Regions from separate parts of the Homo sapiens genome. Here all the other regions are linked to region 1. The links are contacts of gene promoters, found by promoter capture Hi-C in blood cells and fetal thymus (Javierre and others, 2016). All regions are on one chromosome and are shown on one strand. The core of a region is centred on a gene start or on the middle of the fragment in contact, and the rest is flanking DNA. Distances in the headings are between cores, read along the strand shown.

Region 1 (3,121 bases), core at 384-2,883:
AAAAAAAAAAAAAAAAAAAAAAAAAAAAAAAAAAAACCTTACCAATATAAGGGCCTACAGTGGCATGTAACAAAGATATGGGTCACATAACGTGAAACAAAAGATACACATGATACAGTATTATCCTAAACAGGTATTATTCAAATAGGTAACAAGACATTGTCAGAACGCATAAAAATGGTAAAATATTAAAAAAAAAAAAAGCAAGGACATTTCTGTATGTTATGACCGTGATAATCTAAGAGGGAGGGAGAGAGTTACGAGCAGTTAGGGGAATCTTCAACTTGGTCACAGGGACACTAATTTTCTTTTTTGAGACAGATCTCACTCTGTTGCCCAGGCTGGAGTGCAGCGGTGCAATCTCGACTCACTGCAACCTCCACCTCCCGGGTTCAAGCAATTCTGTCTCAGCCTCCTGAGTGGCTGGGACTACAAGTGCTCACTACTACGCCCAGCTAATTTTTGTATTTTTAGTAGAGACAGTTTCACCATGTCGGCCAGGCTGGTCTTGAACTCCTGACCTCAAGTGGTCTGCCCGCCTTGGCCTCCCAACATGCTGGGATTACAGGTGTGAGCCACCGCGCCCAACCTATTTCTAATAATTATTCTCACCTGAATGAGATGGCTCACACCTGTAACCCCGCAATGCGAGAGGCTGAGGAGGGGGATCAAACCAGCCTGGGAAACAGAGCAAGATCCCTGCTCTTAAAAAACACGTAATTATTATTCTCTCCAATTGTATTATATGTCGTATGGGATTTTCTACATTAATGTATCCCACCGAAATATTTATTTTAAAGATAATATGTACAGGAAGAAAAAACCTATTCAGTCACTGGCAATATTATGAAGATATGCTATAACCAACATTTGCTTACTGATTTAGCAAATTTCAGAATTATGGGACAGAAGCGTTTTAAGAAGTTACTTATCAAGGACATGATAGGAAACTCCTGAGCGGTAAGGCCAGGCCGAACTCATGCCACGGACGCCCCGTGCCTCCCGGCCTGGGCCGGCAGCGCTGAACTATTACCTTATATTAAACACGGGCTCGTGGATTACCATGAACACTAAACTGCTTCGTCATTTTTTTCCCCATAAATTGAGTCATTAAAAAAACAAAACAGTTCAATTCCGGGAGGCGTCAGTTCTCTGAACACAGCGAGACTTTAAGTATGGGCTGTGGGCGCCTCGGGTCTCTTAAGGACTCGGCCTCCCAACAAAAATGAACTAGGAGCAAAGCTGTCAGCGAGAACCGCAAATGCCGACCCCATTTACTACCCCCGTTAAAGCCCACGCTAATGGAGGGCCCCGCCGGGAGCGCCGCGGGCAGGCCCGGCCCCCAGCCCGGGGCATCGCCCCTGGGAGTAGGAAGGAGCTCCGAGGTCCTCCGGCCTCGGAGCCTCGGATGCGGGAGCTCCAGGAAGGGCTCGGGGTGCGGGACGCCCACAGCTTGGGGAGCTGCCAGCCCCGGGCGCAGGGACGAGGACCCCTACGCCTCCGGCCTGCCCTGGACCCTCCCCTCCCGGGTACCAGCGCGCCGAGCGCCTCCCGTCGCAGCGTCTCACCCGCCGCTCAGCCGCCTCAGCACACACAGGCCCTGCCGCCCGCCGCAGCGCCACATTGCGCATGACGAGCACCTGGCTGGCGAGGAACCCCCTCTTAACCCGACGCAGGGCGCGGGGCGGGGCTTGCCGTGACAGCTACCACTCCTATTGGTCAACGCGAACAGCGACGTCCTCTGCGATAGGCTGTAGGTGAAAAGGGTAGGCCTCCACTGCTCTGGGACGGGCGGGAGGGCGGTGCGGACGGAGATGGGCGGGAGGGGCGGGGCCGACGTGCCGAAGGAGGCGGGCAAGGCGAGGGGCGTGGTACGGGTAGAAAGGGGCGGGGCCGTCTTGCCGAAAGGGGCGGGGTTCGGCCAGCAGCAGGATGTGGACAGATGATAGGAGGGGGAAGTGGGCAGGCGAGAAGTGGGGCGTGGCGAGAGGCGTGTGTATGCAGATGAAGTGGGGCCTGGTGAAGGGCGGGGCTGCGCTGGTGAAAAGAGGGGCTCCTGGAATGGCGTGCTGTGTTGGGTGGGGCTGTGCAAGTGATGGGAGGGGCTTAGCGAGGGGTGGCTCTTTGCAGGTGAGGAGTGGAGACCAGTGGGAGAGGGGATTGCAAGTGAGCTGAGCCTTGGGGGCGGGGCTTGCAGGTGACAGGGTGGAGCCTAGTGGGCGGGGATGCAAGTGAGCTGGGCCTTGGGGATGGGGCTTGCAGGCGATGGGGTGGAGCCTGGTGGGGCGGGGCTGCAGGTGAGCTGGGCCTTGGGGGCGGGGCTTGCATGCGAGAGGTGGGTCCTTGTGGGGGCAGGGCTGGCAGAAGTGGGTGGGGCTTGGTGATGGACCGCGGTGTTCAGGTGAGGGTAGTGGCCTGGTTGGGGGCTGCCGGAAGCTGGGCCAGGTGAAACTTGGTAGCCCTCTCTGGCCTTGGTGTGGGCGTTGGTCCTGTTTGTAGGGCTGAGCTGAGCTCCAAAGGCGTTCTGCTGCCCCGCCAGGCCTGAACCTTGGGGTCTGGGGGCTTCTTGGATGAGATCTCAAGGCTGCATGGCAGGTCCCAGGGCCAGGGCCCCACGGTGTCACACGTATCACGGATGGCCGCCAGCGAAGCACAGCACAGCTCCGAGCTGCTGCATGGGAGCCTGTGGCCCCCGCTGCTGCCTCCGCTTTCCTCTTCGTTTCGTGTCTAGGAAGATGCACCTGAGCCCCCTGACATTGCCCAAGTGCCCAAGGGCCCTTCTGGGAACCCCCAGAGAGGCTGAAGGAGGCCCCCGTAGGAGTGGGTGGTTCTGCACTGTGGGCCAGAAGGGGCCCTGGGATTAGCCACGCTTGGAGAGGGTGGGGTAGCCCTTGGAGGAAGTCCGCACCAAGTCTGACCTTCCGGGTTTCTCAGAGCCTCTCTTCCTTCCTCCCTTCACCTTCTCCCTCTTTTTTTCCCCTTGTATCACGAATACAAACAGGCTCAAATCTCCCTCTGTCTCCTAATGGGCTCTGAAAAAAAAAATTAAAAATTAAATGGTAAGTAGATGGCTGCAGTCGGCTTGAACAAGCTAAAACTTTGGAAGCAATGTGGAAGGTAA
Region 2 (3,121 bases), core at 260-2,759, 1.7 Mb after region 1:
ATACAGGGTCTTCCTTTCCCATCTTGTGAGAGATGAACAGTGAACATCAGGCTGGCAGAGGCTTTGCCAGCCATCCAGTCCACCAGCCATTCATCTTTTCTTAGAAAGGTGAAGACTGGGCCTGGTCACATGGCCAGGCTGGGGTTGCTTAGTGACAGGGCTGTGGCTTGGATGCAGGTCTCCTGACACATGGTTTTTTTTGTTTTGTTTTGTTTTGTTTTCACACATCTCAACTCTCCTTCTTCGCAGCCTCCTCATCCAGAATGGATCATGAGCTGCAGTGAACTTTCCTTCTGCCTCTCACATCCTCGAGTGCAGGACTTGCCTCTGGACGAGAGCAACATGGTTATTCCCAGTGACACGGACTTCCTGGACACGTGGGAGGTGAGCTGAGCCACACCACCAGGCAGCCTCATCCTGTGTGGGTCTCCACCCAGGATGCAGTGAGCCCTGAGCTGCTTGTGTTCAAAGACATCAAGGTTGTCTACCTGAGATGTGGGGTTTGTGGAGCAAAAAAGGAATCAATACCCGAAGAACTCAGAGACCTCAGTGACTTTCTTGTTACCTTTGGTTTGGTATGGTGCAGTTCTCTTGACACATTTGAGGGGTAGCTCATTATAGACCTCACTTTTTTTCTCAAATATTTATTTATTTTTTTATTAAAAACCATATTTATTTCAGAAAATACAGGAGAGTTCTTCTGCATTAAACTAACATTAAAAATTTTATTTTCCTGGCACCCAGCAGTAACCACTGTTAATGTTTTATAGTTCCTTTTTCTCTCAAGCATTTCAGAATGATAAAGTTGGCAGCATGGAAGCTCAGGCTGGGGAGGTGAGACCAGTGTCGGGGAAGGTTACCAAGTGTCAGCCCATTTCCAGGGTTCAGACCAAAAACAGCCCTTTACTGCAGGGGCTTGCAGTAAAGACTTGAGCAGGAAATTAAGGGGGTGGTGGATTTGAGAGGTTCCTGGAAGTTGACCCACAGGCTGGGGTGGGTCTCAGGCTTGGGCTCCAGCATGGCTGACCGAGCACGTGTGGTCTTACAGTCTTGCTAACCATCATGTGGGATGGGACATCACATTTGAGGCCCAAGAAGAAAGTAAGCTTAAGCTTAAGCTTGCTGAGGTTAGGACAGAGCTTGCTGGGTGAAGCTCTCCAGGGAGGAGGCCAGAGGGAACCCTCGGACAGGGAGGAGTCCCAGGCTAGGCTCCCCCCATCAATAGAAGACAAAGACTGACCTAAGGTATCTGAGATGTCAGGACCAGGGCCCATGGGCCTCAACTCTTTCTGTCACAATGTTTTAGGTCCTAAAAGATTTGGGTTAAACTCTAGGGTGCTCATGTAGCACCAGCGAGGTTCCGGTGATTGTTGCAGAGTTGAGGCAGTAACTAACTGCTGCGTGTTGGCCCATTGGTCACTCAGGACTTGCTGCTGACTACGGACCCTGGCACGAAGCTATGCTCTTCCTGAAGCTCAGGGGCAGCCTGGCTTGCTGGTCAGTGACCAGCTCAGAGCTTTAGGTTGCTCTGCCCTAAAGTGTCTTAAAATAGTAAGTGGAGAAGGTGGGATAGGAGAATGGTGATGTATCCGTGTGCTTAAGAAGGTCAGTGTCTCAGTGGAAAGAAAGGTGAACAAATAAAATCCGCAGCAGACATGCTTGCCAGACATCAGGAGGAATAGGAACAAGAAGAGCTCACATGTGTCGAGTACTGGACGCCAGCCTTAGCTGACACTTCCTGTGATTCCACATAACCCCTAAACATCCCCGTGGCACAGGCCATGTAGACCTGTCCTGAAGCTGAGAAAATTGGGGCCAAGTGAGGCCATGCAACTTGCCCAGCATCCTCTAGCCAGAAAAGATGGGACTGAAATCAGACCTTGAGTGCAGAAATGCTTTTGAAGCTTCAAGTAAAATATTGTAAAAATATTGGGTCCAACCAGTTTTAGAATACCATACAGAACTGCTGAGGGACGTAGATTGTCAGTGCAGTAGACAGAAGCTTCACACCCAGCAGAGTCGTTCTCTTATAGGCCATGGAGGACCTGGTGATCACCGGGCTGGTGAAGAACATCGGGGTGTCAAACTTCAACCATGAACAGCTTGAGAGGCTTTTGAATAAGCCTGGGTTGAGGTTCAAGCCACTAACCAACCAGGTAAGCCGATGGAAGCATCAGAGAGTTTAACCTGTGTGGCTGGTCCCCCAGCTGCCACCTCCACAGGGCTCTTCTGGAAATGGAAGAATGGGTGAAGCACAAAACAGGCCTGTTCTCCTCTGGCAGCACTCAGAATGGTGATTAAAGGCAGCAGCTAGGCAAGTGGCTTTCTTGAAGGTGCATCTGGGTAGATGGTACTGTTGGCAGGCAGGGCATGAGCTGGTGCTTGGCCCTCCATGTGCAGTGCAGGCAGGTCACCAGGTGTACTCAGAAGCAGTCAGGGTCCTGGCAGGTGCCTCACCCTTATCCAGGAACATGGGCCTCCCCTCTACCTCTTCCCAGCCTGCAGACTGCAGCAAGAAAGAGTGGATGACTAGATGGCTTCACGCGAGGCTCACAGGCTGCTGAAGGTGATGCAGGCACTTCGTTTTTTTAATGCAGAGAAAAGACTTGTGGGGAAATAACTATTGTATTTTCTAGACTAGCTTTGTATGTTCAAAGATCATTTATACAGTACTTAAGCTTTTTATTGAAGAGTAGAAGTGCACATGTGAAAATGGAACTGTATAAATTCTCATAAACTGAGCATAGCTCTGGGACTAGCATCCAGCTCAGTAAACAGCACGTCCAGTGCCCCTGTAACCCCTGCCGAGCACAGCATCATTCCCATTCCCAGCAGCTGGGATTCACGTCTGAACTTTACACAGGTAAAATAAAATAATAATGCAACATAAACCCCTCTGTGCTCGCCTCTTTCACACAGCACTGTGTTTCTGTACATGTGATTGTAGATAGTGCTCTCTTATTTCTTGTGGTATTCTGTTTTGTGAATTAACCACAATTGAGTTATCCATTCTGCTGTTAATGGGCACTTAGACAGTTTCCAGTTTGGGACTATTAAGAATAGAGCATCATGTTCTATTTTTTTGAATAAATATGCTTTTTAAAAAAGTTCTGTATGGAGT
Region 3 (3,121 bases), core at 420-2,919, 1.6 Mb after region 1:
CTCCTTCCACTGGGTTCTCCTTTCCTAGTTCTGCAGTACAAGCTTCATGGTCTCAGCTTCTGCCCATCCATCAGTGTCCTTGTTAATGGAGGTGTTCAGGACCCTCTCCCATCACTTCTTCCTCCCCACTCTCCACTCACAACTTTGGGCCTGTCCACCGCCTGAATGCGCTTGACCTGGACATCCATTTATCTAGGAGAGCTATCTCACTTGTGTTCAAATTGGTATTCTCTCCAATAGATAAGACAGAAAATCTGAACTAATCACACACACTTATACACACACAAATGCACTCACACTCAGACACACACATTCATACACAGACATGCACAGAAATACAGACACACACATACACACACACACCAACACATGCACAGACACACAGACACCCTCAGACACACAGAGACACACACAAACACACACAAACTCATGGACACACACACAATGACACAGATGCACAGACTCATTCCAAATCTTTCCTCTTGCCTTGCACTTTTATGATTAGTGAATTAAATCATAACCCACACCATTACCCAAGCCAGGAACCAGTGAATATTCCTGGCTGTTACTCCTCTCTTGAGCCCCACAGTTGCTGCAAGGAGTTGTGTCCTGCTGATGGCTCCCCTTCCACATGTCTCACCACCTTCTCCTCTCCTGCACACTCTGAGATTGTTTAGTGCAGGCCTGTACAATTGCACACAGGTGCTGCCTGTCACCCCAACAGCAGGCTTGTTCTCTCCATCTGCACCCAGAGAGAGGCTTTGCAGCTGGGGGTGCGAATGTGGCAGAATTTCCATCCTTTCCAACACACATTCATTTTATGGCCCAGAATGTGTTCTCTTCTCTCTTGGTGAATGTCCCAAATGCCTGTGAGCAGAATGTGTATTTGCTTCAATTGGGTGTGGTCACTAATGTCCCGGGCAGGGTAGAGTTGTCCAGCTCTTCTGTCTTTCCACAGATTGTCTAGGCACTGATTCTATCCATTACTGTGTTGAAATCTCTAGCTAGAATTGCAGACTTATTTCCCCTTTTCAGTTCTATCAGCTTTTGATTCCTGTATTTTGAAACTCCAATATGAAGCCCACACTCATTTAGGATTAATATGGAAGCCAGCCTTTAAATAAGAATTTTATCTTAAAATTAATATCACTCTGTCATCTTAAGAAGATGTGAGGCCTGTGAGAGCAGGTACTGTGTATTTTGTGTCTGTATTCTTTCTGTTTCACACTGCAACCATAATCGATGATGAATAAATAATGTTCCCTCTTGAAGATCTGGTCCCTGTCTCCAGGGCAGTGCTATGTAAAAAAAAAAGAGCAAATTCCTGCCTTCTAAACACTCCTCCACACCAACAAACACACTGTGCTAGGAAAGCAGCAGTGATGAAGGTGCTGGGCCTCCGGTGGAAAGGTAACACACATTTCCCATCCTCGGGAGCTTGCAGCACCGGCAGGCGGGCCGTTACACAGATAACACAGTATGCTTCTATGCCAGGGTGGACCCAGGAGTCCGTCCTCCCTGTCACTTACGAGACTGGAGTCCTGGAAAAGTTACTGAACTTCTCTGTGCCTTGGTTTATCCATCATGAAAGTCGGGTTAAAAAGAATACCCCACCCCTAGGGTGGAAGTGGGACTTGCTTGAATTGAAACAGTTGGTTTTTAAGTATTTTGCATAGCTGTTATTATTAAATTAACATCAAAAAAGTTGCCTGGTTATTTTAATATGGTCTTCACATAGGCAGTACAGCCGGCCAGATTTAGCATTTGCATTTATAACTGAGTCTCTCTTCTGCCTCCGTGAGACTTCCCAGGAGTTGCTTTGATGCTGCAGGGAGTCACACATCTCCAGATGCATCACTGGTGACTCAGCAAGCACCTGACCTGGTCCGTTACACATGGGGCTTATGTGCTTAACTCCTATGCGATGATGATTCTTCTCTAGTTCTTGGGGGTCGTTCCCTTTCTCCTACTGTACTGGCTGTTTAAAGTCAGCACTGTATGAGTTGCATACATAAGCCAAATGTCATTGACTTCTTCTTTTTTTTTTTTTTTTTGACAGTCTTACTCTGTTGCCCAGGCTGGAGTGCAGTGGTGTCATCTCGGTTCATTGTAACCTCTGCCTCCTGGGTTCAAGCAATTCTCGTGCTTCAGTCTCCAGAGTAGCTGGGATTACAGGCATGAGCCAACGTGCCCAGCTAATTTTTTTTTTTTTGTATTTTTAGTAGAGACAGGATTTTGCCACGTTGGCCAGGCTGGTCTCAAACTCCTGGTCTCAAGTGATCAACCCACCTTGGCCTCTCAAAGTGCTGGCATTACAGGCATGAGCCCTTGAGCCCAGCATAGATGTCATTGAAATTCAAGGGGGAAATCATTTGGAATGATCACAGCGACTGGTCCAGAGATGACTAACAGCTTAAAATGACCCCACCTGAAACAGCGGCGATCAGTGGAATGTCCAAGTATATATATATATATTTTTTTAATGAAGCTCTTTTGGACCAGAAACCCTAAGAATGTTTAGTCTGGAGTTCCATAATTATAAAAAAAATCTTCTGAAGTTAATCACCGTTTTTATCTGAAACCATACTCTAACTCAGTAACTCTTTCTCAGGGTTTACTTTCTCTTGAGCCACAAGCATCCATTTGTCCCCTACCAAAGGGACTAGACTTTCATGATGGATAAAAGGACACTAGTGCCAGGTAGCTTCTGCTTCTAAATTTTGGTTTAAAAAATGAAACATCTCCTTTTAGATATTCTAAAAAGTCATCTCCCCTAAAATCATGAAGCCTGGTTTATAAACTTTATAGAAGAAACTAGGTCTTTGAGGCTAACACATATTAGTGTATTAAAAAATACGGTAAACCAGCCGGGCACAGTGGCTCACGCCTGAAATCCCAGCACTTTGGGAGGCCAAGGCAGGTGGATCACTTGAGGTCAGGAGTTTGAGACAAGGCTGACCAACATGGTGAAACCCCGTCTCTACTAAAAATACAAAAATTAGCCAGGCTTGGTGGCATGCTCCTGTAATCCCAGCTACTCGGGAGGCTGAGGCACGAGAAAGGCTTAAACCGGGAGGCAGAGGTTGCAGTGAGCAGAGCTCCCATCACTACACTCCAGGTT
Region 4 (3,121 bases), core at 444-2,943, 1.6 Mb after region 1:
TGGTATTAGAATTTCATCACACCTGGGATTTTCCCAAGTACAACTTGATAGCTTAGCTTCTGAGACTAGAGTTCCACACAGGCATTCTGGCACACAGTGAAATCAAGCTTTAGAAGAAAGCTGCCCATGTCACTTGACATGAAACCGAGCTGCTAGTGTGTCTTACCACCCTAGTCAGAAGCAGCTGGAGAGCATGGTTCCCAGGCCCTTCTTCTGGGGGAATGTCTGGCCTTAAAAGTGGCTAAGTGGGTCATATGATCTAATTCTGTGCAGTTGAGGATATTCAAGACCAGCTTCCTAGAGAAGTAAGAAGGGTATTATGGGAATGAACGTCTTCTTCCTCTTTGAGTTGGTAGTTGCTGAGATTGCCAGGTAGAGAAATGAAGAGTGAACAACAGAAATTATTTAGAAAATCCAGTGATCGCTGGATATATCTGGCTGATCAGCAGGTTTCTCAGTCCAAAATTCTGAGCATCTCATGTGGCATTATCTAAACAGCCACACAAAGCCAATAGGTAATGGAAATGGGTCTGGAAGATGACCAGCAAGTAATACCTTACCAAAAACTTTCAGTTCTGATGTTGATGAACAGTTATACACTCCTGTTCTCTCTTCCCTGGTGAGAAGGCCATTCCTAGACTGCTTCTCCACTCCACATATTAACGGCCCCTGGAAAGCCACTGTATTCATCTCTCCTGTGTGAAACCCCAACATTCAAACACTGACCATTGTTTTCAGACCAAACTGAAGTTCCGTTACACAGGTAGGCTGCTCCGTTAGCAGTCATTTGTCTACACCCTATACTTCACAGTAAGTTAATGATACAGCTCAAGAAATGCCTTTTCTGACCGTATCTTTTAATATATGGACCATATCCACCAAGTCAAACTTCAATTTCTATTTCCAAGTGCATATGTGCCACATTTTGGAGCAGTGAAGACATGTTAAAATGTGACTGAGAGGTTAAGTATGGCTAAAAAAATTAATCTTCTACTTTTTTCCTTGTTTCTTATTGAAATGGATTCCGTAAATATTAGCTGGAGAGGTAATTGCTTACTACAGTTAGAAATAAGACAATAAGTAGTTTAGGGAAAGTAATTATATTTATATAGCCTTTGCTTAGATTTCAAAAATTATATGTTTTATAGTTATGACTTTAGAATACAACTGCCTGCATCCTGTTTAGCTCAACGTCCAGATAACACCAGCAAAATGGGTTCTCCTTCATCAGTCTATTGGTAGCTCTCTCTTTTTCTTTAATGTATTCTTAAATACAGCATTGGAATTTCATAAGGACAATATTCTAGGAATGCCCCAAAGAAATATGTGCAATCTGACCTAACATCACATCTTTCGTGAATGACTTGGAAAAGGTAATGTTGTGACTGGTTCATTGTAATTCAGCACATTTAACCTACAGTTACAACAATCATTATTCCCAAAAATGTGTAAGATAGCCAGGGTATCAGAGAGTCTGTCCAGCCTGTTCCCTTAGCTACTGATACCTGTCAGACCTCACATCCTGATCTGAAATTGAAAAGTGTTACAATAACAACTACAGGTTGTCGTGTTGTTAGTTTTGTCCAGGCAAATATATGTATTTATAGCCTCTAGGATCCATGCAGGTACCATAGTCTTGTAACCCCACCCCTCTGTTCACCATTGACTGTGTAGAACAGTGGCTAAGACCACAGGTTATAGAGTTAGAGACTTCCTTCTGATACTTCCTGGTGGAATGACAGTGGACAATATCTGTAGTATCTGTAAAGCCTCAGTTTTATCTGCTTTCAAAATGGTAATAGTATTATCTACCTCATAAGTTGCTTATGAGGATTAAATGAGATAATATATATAAGGCATAACTTACAGTGCCTTGTGGTTAGTAATTACTCGTGAAATGTTAGCTATCATTGCTGTCATTATTTTAATATACAACCAAGATTAACATTATGTGAGGCCCCACTGGCAGGTCAATTCCCTTCAAATATTATTTGGCTATTTCTGAGTTATTGACTCTCATCTTCATAAGAATCAGTACCTAAGGTTTTAACAAATAGAGATATTTTATTTGTATAAATAATCATCTCAAATAAATTTACTACTTGCTGTCTGAATAAATCCTGGTTTTAAAAATGACTGCTGGAAAATTTGCGATTTATACCAATATCAATATAATAGTAACTTTCCCTAAACATCCAAAATGTTGATACTAAAAATATAACTTTTTTGCCATTTGGAGTTTTCAAAAGCAAATCTATTTGGGTAAACGGTGGTCTAAACCTGTTTGGACCAAATAAAATCATAAAAATATTTAAACCATTTACTTCTTCAACGAAGCACATTTGTGAATAAAACATTGGCAAATATTAAATTAGATCTCTTTATATAATTAATGACGAGAGAAAACTAGCAAAATGTTAAGGGAAACATTATTTTTTATATAAATATAGAAAGCCTGAGAAATACATGTTTGGATAGAGTGAGACATTTCACTTTATGTCATAAATACCATGTTTTAATGTTTCAAAATTTCAATTTGAAAGGGGGAAATATGTAATGTTTCTGCCAACAGCACTTACATAAATTTCATGCATGCTTGGTCTATTCCTTCTAAAATGCATTTTAAAAGGAAGATTTAAAAAATACGAAAACAGCATGCTTATTATCCACAGTACCTTATTTATAGGCTTGCTCCACAAGTCACTGTGAGACCACAGCCTGGAAATGATTTTTCTTGTGCTTTTTCTTTATCTACCACAAGGAGGAAGATGTCATCAGCCATATCTATAACATGGCAAGAGGAACAAAAATTAAAAGCTGTGGCTTATGATTAAAGGCATCCTATAAAATATGTGCTTGCTGAAACGCCATCGGCTAACTCCAAATATGTATGGAACTAAGTGTAAAGTTATGGCTGGCAAGTTGCTTTGTGTCATTTTCTTGTCGACGCTCAACATGCAAAGTAGCACCAGCACTCTGTGCAAATAGAACAGCAATGATACGGCAAAATAAGGAAGGGCTGGCTGGATTAGCAACAATGATACCAATACACTAACATACTAATGCACCCGACATTCTAATACCCAGGGGCATGAGGGCGTGGTCAAAATTCCATAGACTC
Region 5 (3,121 bases), core at 316-2,815, 1.6 Mb after region 1:
AAGGAGACTCCCTCCATGTCTTTTTCTAGAGCAGGTGAATGATACACTTTCCACCCATTATTAAAGCTCTGGGTTCTCTAAGTTCAGAGCTCCGTTCCTGCATCACCACCCCATGCCTGCATGCTTCCCTGCCTCCATCTGGGAAAACTTGCATCCTTACCTGTGGGACTTAGGGGACAACTGGCACTAACTCAAAACACAAGATGCTCCAGCTGGCTACTACACCACAAGTGGTAAAGTCTTTCGTCTCTTACCCAGGAGTGTCATGTCTTTTGACAGCATCCATAAAACTGTGGCTGCATAGCTTGTTGGTTGCAAGTAGGATAAAACCTTAGACCTTTCACAGCCCTTGACATTCCCAGTAGGGAGCTATGCAGTTCCTGTGTCTTCAGAGCAGCTTCATGGCTGAATGTGAATGACCTTAAATCAGCAGTGGGCTTTGAAATCTTCAGACGAACATCTTCATAAAAATGCAAAATGATATTATGAATTTAGGGGCTATGTATACAGCCTTCATTTTAAACTCAGTATCTTCATGCACTAAATGAAAAATCACTCTAATCAGTCAAAAGGCACTTTGGGGAGTACTCAAAATATGGGAGTAATATTCAAATCATAATTTTGCTTTATTATGATTTGTGAGCAAATCCAATAGTCATATAGATATTAATATTCCATGGGAGGAAGAGAGAGAGAGAAAATATATATATTCTGAATGAAGGAAGTTGATAGCAGGGCAGGAGCAGGCCATTAACTCCAGTCACTGTGGAGATTTTCTTTCCTTCCAATAACCTCAAATGCAGTTATTCTGCCATTTAATATCATTATTTTTATTCTGAGTGGACCATTCATCTTATAAATCGATTAGTTTGACTAATCATTAATTTTCCTGGTATTTGATTTTGTTCAAGTTACTCAGAAGCTCTTTGGCCCATCTCTCTTTCCAATCTTTCTATTCTTTCCCCCTTCTTTCCATTCATCATTTTCTCAATAACTTCCCTGGGAACTGCAAAGCAAATTATTTGGTAGCATACTTCATTAGGAGGGAGATTTGCATGAAAAGAGAACATTTTATTTAAGATTTGAAATTCGTGACTGTTCTTAAAGTCTTTTTGCTGTTTGATCACAATTAGAAAGCTAATGTCAGCTCCTTGATGAGAATGAGATGAATTTAACACAAAAATTCTCTGCAGCTGTGGACTGCAGGATGCAGCGCAGGCTCCTGCAACCTCTTGTGTCTAGTGGGTCCTGCTCAGAAGCTTCTTCATGTAAACAAATAACCCAAGAAAAACGATGGAGTTTTCTATGCAAATGCAGGGTCATAACAATTTCCTGAGATTCTCCATTCATAAATTTACCCCTGTGAGTCTCTCCTTTTTAGAAACTCTGTAACTACCACTGGAGCTGCCATACACTGAGAGGGCAACTACGCAAAAGGCTGACAACTAGACCATATGTGAAAATAATACTCTGGGCCGGATGCAGTGGCTCACCCCTATAATCCCAAAACTGTGGGACATTGAGGCAGTAGGATCACTTAAGCCCAGGAGTTCCAGACTGCAGTGAGCTATGATCATTCACTGCACTCCAGGGTGGGTGAGAGAGACACCCTGTCTCTAAAAAAAGAAAACAGTACTCTCATCCAGAAACTCCACTTTTGAGCAATCTGCCCAAAATGACCACCCCTTGATTAATAACTGACAGCTTCTCTAAATTTTGCCCTCACTCCCAACTAAGTAACAAACAGAGAAAACCAAATATGCTCTCCTAGCCAATCCCATAGGATGCTCCAATTCTAGGTAGCCTGCCTCCAGCTCCCCAAGCCAACAGCCTCTAGTCAGGGCACACTGAGCCTTCCCTTTTTTCCACTATAAAGCTTCACAGCCCCTTACCTGCCTTTCAGTCTCTGCCAAACACAAATGACAGTGCTGACTCCTCTGATCCAGATGAGCTCAGAATACATAGCCTTTGCCTTTCTTAGTTGGCTGGTCTTCATTTATTTCACATAACAGGAAGAGTCTATGAGTTACTAGTGGTTCTATAATAAAACCTCTTGATAACTAAGGTCTGAATCATTGCATTGCTTACAATGTGGGTTACTGCAAATTAATAAAAGACCGCATTGTTTCCCACTAGTTTGTATGTTTACATTGCCATAAAAAACACAAAAGTAAGGATAATGAAAATCATACTGGAACCAACAAAGTAAAAACTGACTGAGAATTTCATACCTCTACCCTACAGCCGACTCCCTCTTCTGGATATGAATGTCTCTCTCCTTTTGAGAATGGCTTTTTGTGGAGGTGGGCGTCAGGTGGCGACCACGTTGTATCTGAATCCTCGTTATTGTGCAGTCATCACAAGGCTTGCTCTCTTTGTGTTTGTAGTCTTTAATTAGTAAGCTTTATAGCTGTGCAAATTCGCAATCTTTATCCACCATTCTGAAATCCAAAATGCAGTAAAAACAAATAGGAAAAAAAAGAAAAAAAGATTGTCCGTAATGTGTTTAGCCACAGTAACTGACCTGAGCTAATGACAACCTATTTAGAGTCCCTGATTGTCACCGCCCTCAATTTCATACCAGTGGCCACAGAATCCATAATGAGCTTAATTACATGGAGCTGCCCCATACCTTGCTGGGGGGATTATATAATATACTGTTTTGTAATGTATTACCATTATAAAATCCAAAAGAAATGTAAAAAATCTGAATTTTGAAACACATAACACCCGGGATGTTTTGGATAAGGTTTAAGGAACATAACCCATTGACTGACTGAGCCCTGCAGTCCTTATTAACACAAGCATTATCTTGAGAGAACACACTCAGAATGGAAGGACAACCTAGATCTCGTTCAGCCCAGTTCCTCCCATTTCACATGGAGAAACTGAGGCCTAAGATGGCTCACCCACCAGGTTTCACACATTCTTATATGTCACAATCTGTAGATTTGAAAATCTGTCAACTCTTCAGCAAGGGTAGGTAGTTACTAAGACAACAAAGTGATAATTAGTAAGTCATCATTAGTAGGCAACATTTTGAAATAATTATTACTAGGTTTAACAGATTTTAAATGTTTTCCTGGTTCATGCTATGAAAGTCATTAATGTTTTTTTTTTT
Region 6 (3,121 bases), core at 396-2,895, 1.5 Mb after region 1:
ATAAATGCCTAAAGTGCTTATTGTCTTAATGTATTCATTTTTTAGCCATTTAAATTACATTTTACAGTTCCAAAAGTGGCTAATCAAGTAATAAAGATAATGTTCAAAACTACAAAGATCTTCTTGGCGTATTCTCAGCCAAGAGAGTATTGGCATATTTTCGCAGATAGCACATAACACTTTTTCATGAGTCACTGTCTTAAAATAATTTTCTTCCTAGTGTTATAATACTTCCTTATAGGAATTTTGATTCTGCAAATAAATTTTACATCAATTGATATTTGCAACATTATTTTAATATTAAATAAAATTATATTTTAGTTTTGTTTAATAAAACAACATCAAGATTTGCAACAAGTACTATTACCACTTTCTCACAAACTAATTATAATACCTATTTGGTTGCCATGTGGTTTAGGCACTCATCTCAGAGAGTCAGTTGTGTATAGGGTAGTGATTCTGCCATGGTACCTGTCTTCATTATTTTCAGCGAGATCCGTAAACTCTTTGTGACTGAGTCTCACCTGTTGAACTAACCAGTAACTGTTGCTCTGGTCCACTGAAAAACTAAGAGTCATTTGTATCACGTTCTAATCGCCTTCATCACAAGGGCTATCTTTCCTGCTTTGAAACTTAAATGTTCATCATCAAGCAGTTTCTTGTGTGAGGTACCTACCTTGATAACTACGTTAAACATTTCCCTATTTTTTTCAGTCCTTTAAAGATTCTGCATATTTACTGGGTGTAAGATAATTTTCTCAGCATGAAAAGAAGAATGTGAAATGGTTGAGGTTTAAATACCCATAAGAGAAGAGGAGATAAGAGACTAGTTACTGTCTTAAGCTTATACTTGAATTTCAAGTAGATACTTGCAAAATCTGGGGACTATTGAAAAGCTACTATTAATAATAAGAGAAAATGCCCCCATATAGGGACAAAAATACTCCAAGTGAAGTAGCCATCTGAATGGGACTCAGTTGGGGGAGAAAATGCTTTTTACAACAAATTAAATTCTACTTCGATCTTCGCACAAATTTGTAGTCCAAATTAATATTATAAAAGAATTGTGAAAATCCCAAGTTAATACATGAAGAAGAGACATATTTTGGGAAGTTGAAATATTAGTGGCTTCAGCCAAAGACAATGCAAAAAAGCATTTTGTATGTGTTCCACTTCAGGCATGGCCAAAGATGCTCCTGCCAGGCCAATTTCCCCACAAATAACCACTCGAAACCTGGATAAATTTTTTGAATAGTAGCCTGGAGGCAGTGCAGATTGAGCAGAGGCTGAAAGATTATAGGAGGGAATCAATTTGGAAGAAAGAATGGCATGGGGTAATTTTCCTGTGTTCTCAATTATTTTAGCCTCAATGCAGATTGCAGTCAGCATTAATAAGTAAATCCTTGATAGAAAACCCATACTTTTTCTGTTCTAAAGAACTGGAGAACAGAGTTTGAAATAATCATTTCCACCAGAAAGTGAGGGAGATATTCCAGAAAGGAGATGGCCAGAGACGGGGAGCCCAGATCCCATGCACAAATTTCAGCCAATTAACTAACCAACCTTAAACCATGCATACACAAGGCAGGATCAAAGCACTTTGGAATGAATTTTGAGCTGTGTTCAAAACACAATGTTCATGAGTCTAAAATAATTGTCCGCTAAAATTTAGAAAATCAATACTCTATTAAGGATTATAACAGGATTCAGTCTCTACATCTTCAGAGTATTCAAGAAACAATACAAATCCAGTCAATAGGTGAAGAAAGAATGGATATTTCATTCATTCTCAAGAGAAAAGACAACCTATGGAAAACAATACCCAAATGAACATATGTTGAAATAAGCACATAGGATATTATTTTAACTATTTTAACTACACTCAGTAGTGTAAAAAGAAATATGCTCTTAATAATCAAAATACAAATAGTTTCATCAGCAAATAGAAACTAGGAAAAAGTCTCAAACAGAAATGCAAGAATCAGCCAGGTGCAGTGGCTCACACCTGTAATCCCATCACTTTGGGAGGCTGAGGTGGGCTAATCACCTGAGGTCAACAGTTCGAGACCAGCCTGGCCAACATTGTGAAACCCCATCTCTACAAAAAATACAAAAATAGCTGGGTGTGATGGCATGCACCTGTAATCCCAGCTACTTGGGAGGCTGAGGCAGGTAAATCGCTTGAACCTGGGAGGTGGAGGCTGCAGTGAGCCAAGATTGCACCACTGCAATCCAGTCTGGGTGACAGAGTGAGATGCTGTCTCAAACAAAAACAAACAAACAAAACAAAACAAACAAGAAATGCAAGAAGGGAAAAATACAATGTATGCAGTAAGCACACACTAATTGGGCTTCACAGAATAATAGAATTGACAAAGAAAGGGGTCAGAGAGATCAACAGAACTTTTTAAAATCTGAACAATACCAAGATTGATAAGCAAAGTGAACAAAGCTTCATGGACCTGTGAAATAATCTCTGAAGTTCCAATATCCATGTAACTGCAGTTCCACAGCAGAAGAGAAAGAAAATGGGACATACAGACACACAATTATTGAAAAAAAAAAACTGAACTTTTTCAATTAGGTAAAAGATAAATTTACAGATTATAGAAGCTCAGTAAATTCCAAGTGTGAGCAAACATCATTAAAATGAGCAAGTATGTAATAGTCAAAGTATTTAAAGCCAAAGAAAGAATGTTTTCACAAGCCAGACAAAAATGGCATATTACATACATGCAAAAAATGTTTCAAATATCTTTTTCTTGTCAGAAATTTTAGATGTGAGAAGACAGTTGAAAAATATTATAAGGTAATGCAAGGAAAGAAACTGCCAACCCACAATTCTACATCCAACAAATGTATTCTTCAGAATATGAAGGCAAAATAGAGACAACCTCATACGTTCCACCATTGTGTTTTGGAAGCAGATAATTTGTTTTCTAGTTTTACAGTTCTGTGGATGAAGGGACTTTGCCCCAGTATGGATGAAAACTAAGAGTCTCACCCATACCTAATTTAGATCATTTCAATGATGAGATTTGTAACTTTTTGAGTTGATATTAATGTGACATTTTTTAGAGTTAACGCTTAAATGGGTTAAGAATTTGGGGGACATGGGTAA
Region 7 (3,121 bases), core at 213-2,712, 1.5 Mb after region 1:
GAGGAAAGAAACACAATTGATAATTGAATATTTCAAAGAGATCAGCATTTTAGAAAACTGGGTATGTATTAATATGCTATATCTGACATATGACATGAAAATGACATATATAATATAATTTTGTTTATACTATTATATATTTTATACATTTTGTGTTATAATACATTTTGAATATATGTATATATATACACATACATATATACACACACACAATATATATAGGAAAATAAAATTAAATATTATCAGAATGTTTATTTCTTGATGATGGGAATTTGAGTGGTTCTTTTTTTACTTTATTTCTATTGTTATTCATTTGGTATTTTCCAAATTTTGTTCAGTGATTTTTTATTACTTTTACAATGATAGACATTATGTTTGGAGGCAGAAAAAAGAAGGGAACAGACAAGAAACGTTCATTTGAAAATTCTAAATGCAGAACATACCTGAAGTCAAAGTGTCCCCCGTCACTGAAAAACCAAAGCCACCAATATCAAAGAAGCGTGGGCCCTTCCGCCCCCTACTGTCTATCTTCAGTAACTGTCCAGTGAGTCTCCGCCTTTTGTTAGCAGGAATCTAAGAATCTCCTGGGAAGCTTGCTGTTTGCAAAATTAGGAAATCTTGAGCTACATCCTCAGATAATCTGAGGCTGGATACCCTCAAACTATACTGTGAGAAACATCATCAAAATTAAGTTACATGACGTGATCACAGCTATAGTAATAAAATCAGAAAAAATATGGACATCATATTTAGAAACACAAATTGGCAACGAGATTTCTTTCAGTTTTAAAAAAGTGTATTAGTATATAACATAATATAGTATGTATTAAAATAATATACATTTAAGGGTATATAAATATATGCTTAGTACACATTGTCAGTATTAATATCAATACATTACCTTTTATACATATGTATGTGTGTTTGTTTGTGTATTTATGCACATGCAGCTTTATATTTGCCTATGTAGTTGTATATATGTAGAGTGCATAGTATAGTGTGGATGTGTGCGTATGTGGTATGCATATACCACACACACAGAGTCCTGCACATACACACACAGAGCCATGCATCGTTTAACAATGGGGATACATTCTGAGAAACGCATCCATAGGTGATTTTGTTGTTATGCAAACATCATAGTGTGAACTTTCACAAAACTAGACAGAAGAGCCTACTACACACCTACTGCTGCTAGGCAACAAACATGTACAGCCTGTTATTGTCCTGAATACTGTAGGCAATTGTAACACAATGGTATTTACATATCTAAACATAGAAAAGATACAGTAAAAATATGGTATAAAAGATAAAAATGATGCACCTGTGTAGGACACTCACCATGAATGCAGCTTTCAGGACTGGAAGTTGCTCTGGCTGGGTCAGTGAGCGAGTGGTGAGTGGATGTGAAAGCCTTGGACATTACTGTATGCTACTGCAGACTTTACAAGCACTGTACACTTAGACTACACAAAATGTACAAAAAAATTTCTCTCATCAATAATGAATTAACCTTAGCCCACTATAACTTTTTTTACAGTATAAACTTTTCACTTTGTTTTAACTTTCTGACTCTTGTAATTACACTCCACTGAAAACACAAATCCACTGTATAGCTGAACAAAAATATTGTCTCTTTTTATATCCGTATTCTATAAGCGCTCTTATATTGTTTAATTTTTTAATTTTTAAACTTTTTTGTTAAAAACTAAAACACAAACCACACAATAGCCTACACCTACACGGGGTCAGGATCATTATCACTGTCTTCCACCTACATTTCTTGCCCCATTGGAAGGTCTTCAGGGGCAACGTCACGCATTAAGCTGGCATCTCCTATGATGACAATGCCTTTTTCTGGATAGCTCCTGAAGGAAGTGCCTGAAGCTGTTTCACAACTGACCTTTTAATAATATATTAACATAAAGAGTACAATCTAAAATAACAATAAAAACTATAGCATATTAAACTAGTAACCTAATCATTTATTATCATTGTCAGGTATTATGTGCTATACCTTATTGTATGTGCTGTATTTTTATATGACTGGCAGTGCAGTAAGTCTGTGTACACAAGCATCACCACGAACACAGGACTAATGCATTTTGCTACAGTCTTACAGTGGCGACTGCCTGATGAGTTGGCAGGAGTTTGCCAGCTCCATTATAATCTTGAGGGATCACCATGGTATATGTGGTCCTTCGTTGAACAAAACGTTGTTATGCTGTACACGACTGTATGTACTTTTACAAATAATGCTGCATTTGTCTTTTTAGAAATTATCAAGATCCTAACCTGCGATTAACATCTGCATTTTAACTCTAAAGCTGATAAAAGCTTTTCCTCACTTTGAAGTTATTTGAAGTAGCAGGTTTTTTAAAAGATGACATATATAAGTTCTTAAAAATCATTATTTACTAATTTCAGCATTTCTTCTGAGCTAAGTTTAATATTGTAAAATCTCACAAGCAATTTATTTAAGGTCAGTTAATGACATTGAAGCCAAATTCCTTTTTAAAATACGCTCTCAGTTGCAATTGAACACAGTTACACGTGCCTCTTTGAAGGAAAACGTAGGCACAGTGATAAATGCAGCGTTTCCTTACCCATAACCAAATAGAAATAGCTGCATCAACATTCCGAGCCCAGGACAAATAGGGCTGAAAAGAAAACAAGAAAAAATCATCAGTTTGGCAGCAAATCCACTGTCACTATACTCCCTGGCACTTGCCTTTGGCCTGGAAAGCACTTGTCAATAACGGCTTCTTTGTTTTCTGAGACGTCATCTGTAAATACTGAAATATTGAAACCTAGTCCAGGCTTTGATACCGCATTCTTAAACCTGTTTTGAAAACCTGAGATAATTGCTTTAAAAATGCCTTCATCTATCTGTTATTTGATTTAGAAATACATTGGATTAGGTCTTATAAGTCAAGCAGAAACTTGTCTTTTTTTTTTTTTTTTTTTCTAGACGGAATCTCACTCTCACCAGGCTGGAGTGCAGCGAGCAATCTCGGCTCACTGCAGCCTCTGCCTCCTGGGTTCAAGCAATTCTCCTGCCTCAGCCTCCCGAGTAGCTGGGATTACAGGTGTGAGCCACCACACCCAGCTAATTTTTGTA

The links. The method cuts DNA at HindIII sites, captures the fragments that hold promoters and counts their contacts. A CHiCAGO score of 5 or more calls a contact.
Region 2: a fragment that was not itself captured here is called in contact with the fragment with the promoter of PITRM1 in region 1 in 1 of 17 cell types (total CD4 T cells); the score reaches 5.6 in total CD4 T cells.
Region 3: a fragment that was not itself captured here is called in contact with the fragment with the promoter of PITRM1 in region 1 in 8 of 17 cell types (M0 macrophages, monocytes, M2 macrophages and 5 more); the score reaches 11.4 in M0 macrophages.
Region 4: a fragment that was not itself captured here is called in contact with the fragment with the promoter of PITRM1 in region 1 in 1 of 17 cell types (M2 macrophages); the score reaches 6.3 in M2 macrophages.
Region 5: a contact is called between a fragment that was not itself captured here and the fragment with the promoter of PITRM1 in region 1, in 1 of 17 cell types (monocytes). The highest score is 9.1, in monocytes.
Region 6: a fragment that was not itself captured here is called in contact with the fragment with the promoter of PITRM1 in region 1 in 1 of 17 cell types (naive B cells); the score reaches 5.5 in naive B cells.
Region 7: a contact is called between a fragment that was not itself captured here and the fragment with the promoter of PITRM1 in region 1, in 7 of 17 cell types (monocytes, naive CD4 T cells, fetal thymus and 4 more). The highest score is 7.3, in monocytes.

The regions. Positions count from the first base shown.
Region 1 is chr10:3,171,149-3,174,269 of GRCh38, forward strand. PITRM1 (pitrilysin metallopeptidase 1) reads right to left here and starts at 1,634. Exons shown (of 27, transcript NM_014889.4): 1 at 1,569-1,634. The coding sequence starts at 1,624. RefSeq lists silencers at 1,159-1,998, 2,289-2,448 and an enhancer at 2,647-3,121. The HindIII fragment of the contact is 12,209 bases long and covers 1-3,121 here.
Region 2 is chr10:4,835,426-4,838,546 of GRCh38, forward strand. AKR1E2 (aldo-keto reductase family 1 member E2) reads left to right here. Exons shown (of 10, transcript NM_001040177.3): 4 at 250-384; 5 at 2,034-2,156. Among named protein-coding and RNA genes, the nearest start is that of AKR1E2, 11 kb to the left of the region's middle. The HindIII fragment of the contact is 786 bases long and covers 1,117-1,902 here.
Region 3 is chr10:4,811,284-4,814,404 of GRCh38, forward strand. No RefSeq gene overlaps it. Among named protein-coding and RNA genes, the nearest start is that of AKR1E2, 13 kb to the right of the region's middle. The HindIII fragment of the contact is 3,258 bases long and covers 41-3,121 here.
Region 4 is chr10:4,782,107-4,785,227 of GRCh38, forward strand. No RefSeq gene overlaps it. Among named protein-coding and RNA genes, the nearest start is that of AKR1E2, 43 kb to the right of the region's middle. The HindIII fragment of the contact is 3,177 bases long and covers 106-3,121 here.
Region 5 is chr10:4,762,074-4,765,194 of GRCh38, forward strand. LOC105376375 (a long non-coding RNA gene) reads right to left here. Exons shown (of 3, transcript XR_930599.2): 2 at 2,232-2,441. LOC105376374 (a long non-coding RNA gene) reads right to left here and starts at 1,971. Exons shown (of 3, transcript XR_930598.3): 1 at 1,893-1,971; 2 at 255-460. The HindIII fragment of the contact is 617 bases long and covers 1,258-1,874 here.
Region 6 is chr10:4,673,323-4,676,443 of GRCh38, forward strand. The region is part of intron 1 of MANCR (mitotically associated long non coding RNA); the gene reads right to left. All of the region lies in intron 1 of LOC105376373 (a long non-coding RNA gene), which reads left to right. Among named protein-coding and RNA genes, the nearest start is that of MANCR, 3.2 kb to the right of the region's middle. The HindIII fragment of the contact is 1,609 bases long and covers 842-2,450 here.
Region 7 is chr10:4,656,260-4,659,380 of GRCh38, forward strand. It overlaps MANCR (mitotically associated long non coding RNA), which reads right to left. Exons shown (of 4, transcript NR_024475.1): 3 at 1,342-1,466. LINC00705 (long intergenic non-protein coding RNA 705) reads left to right here. Exons shown (of 3, transcript NR_015425.1): 1 at 1-61. Among named protein-coding and RNA genes, the nearest start is that of LINC00705, 1.7 kb to the left of the region's middle. The HindIII fragment of the contact is 1,745 bases long and covers 591-2,335 here.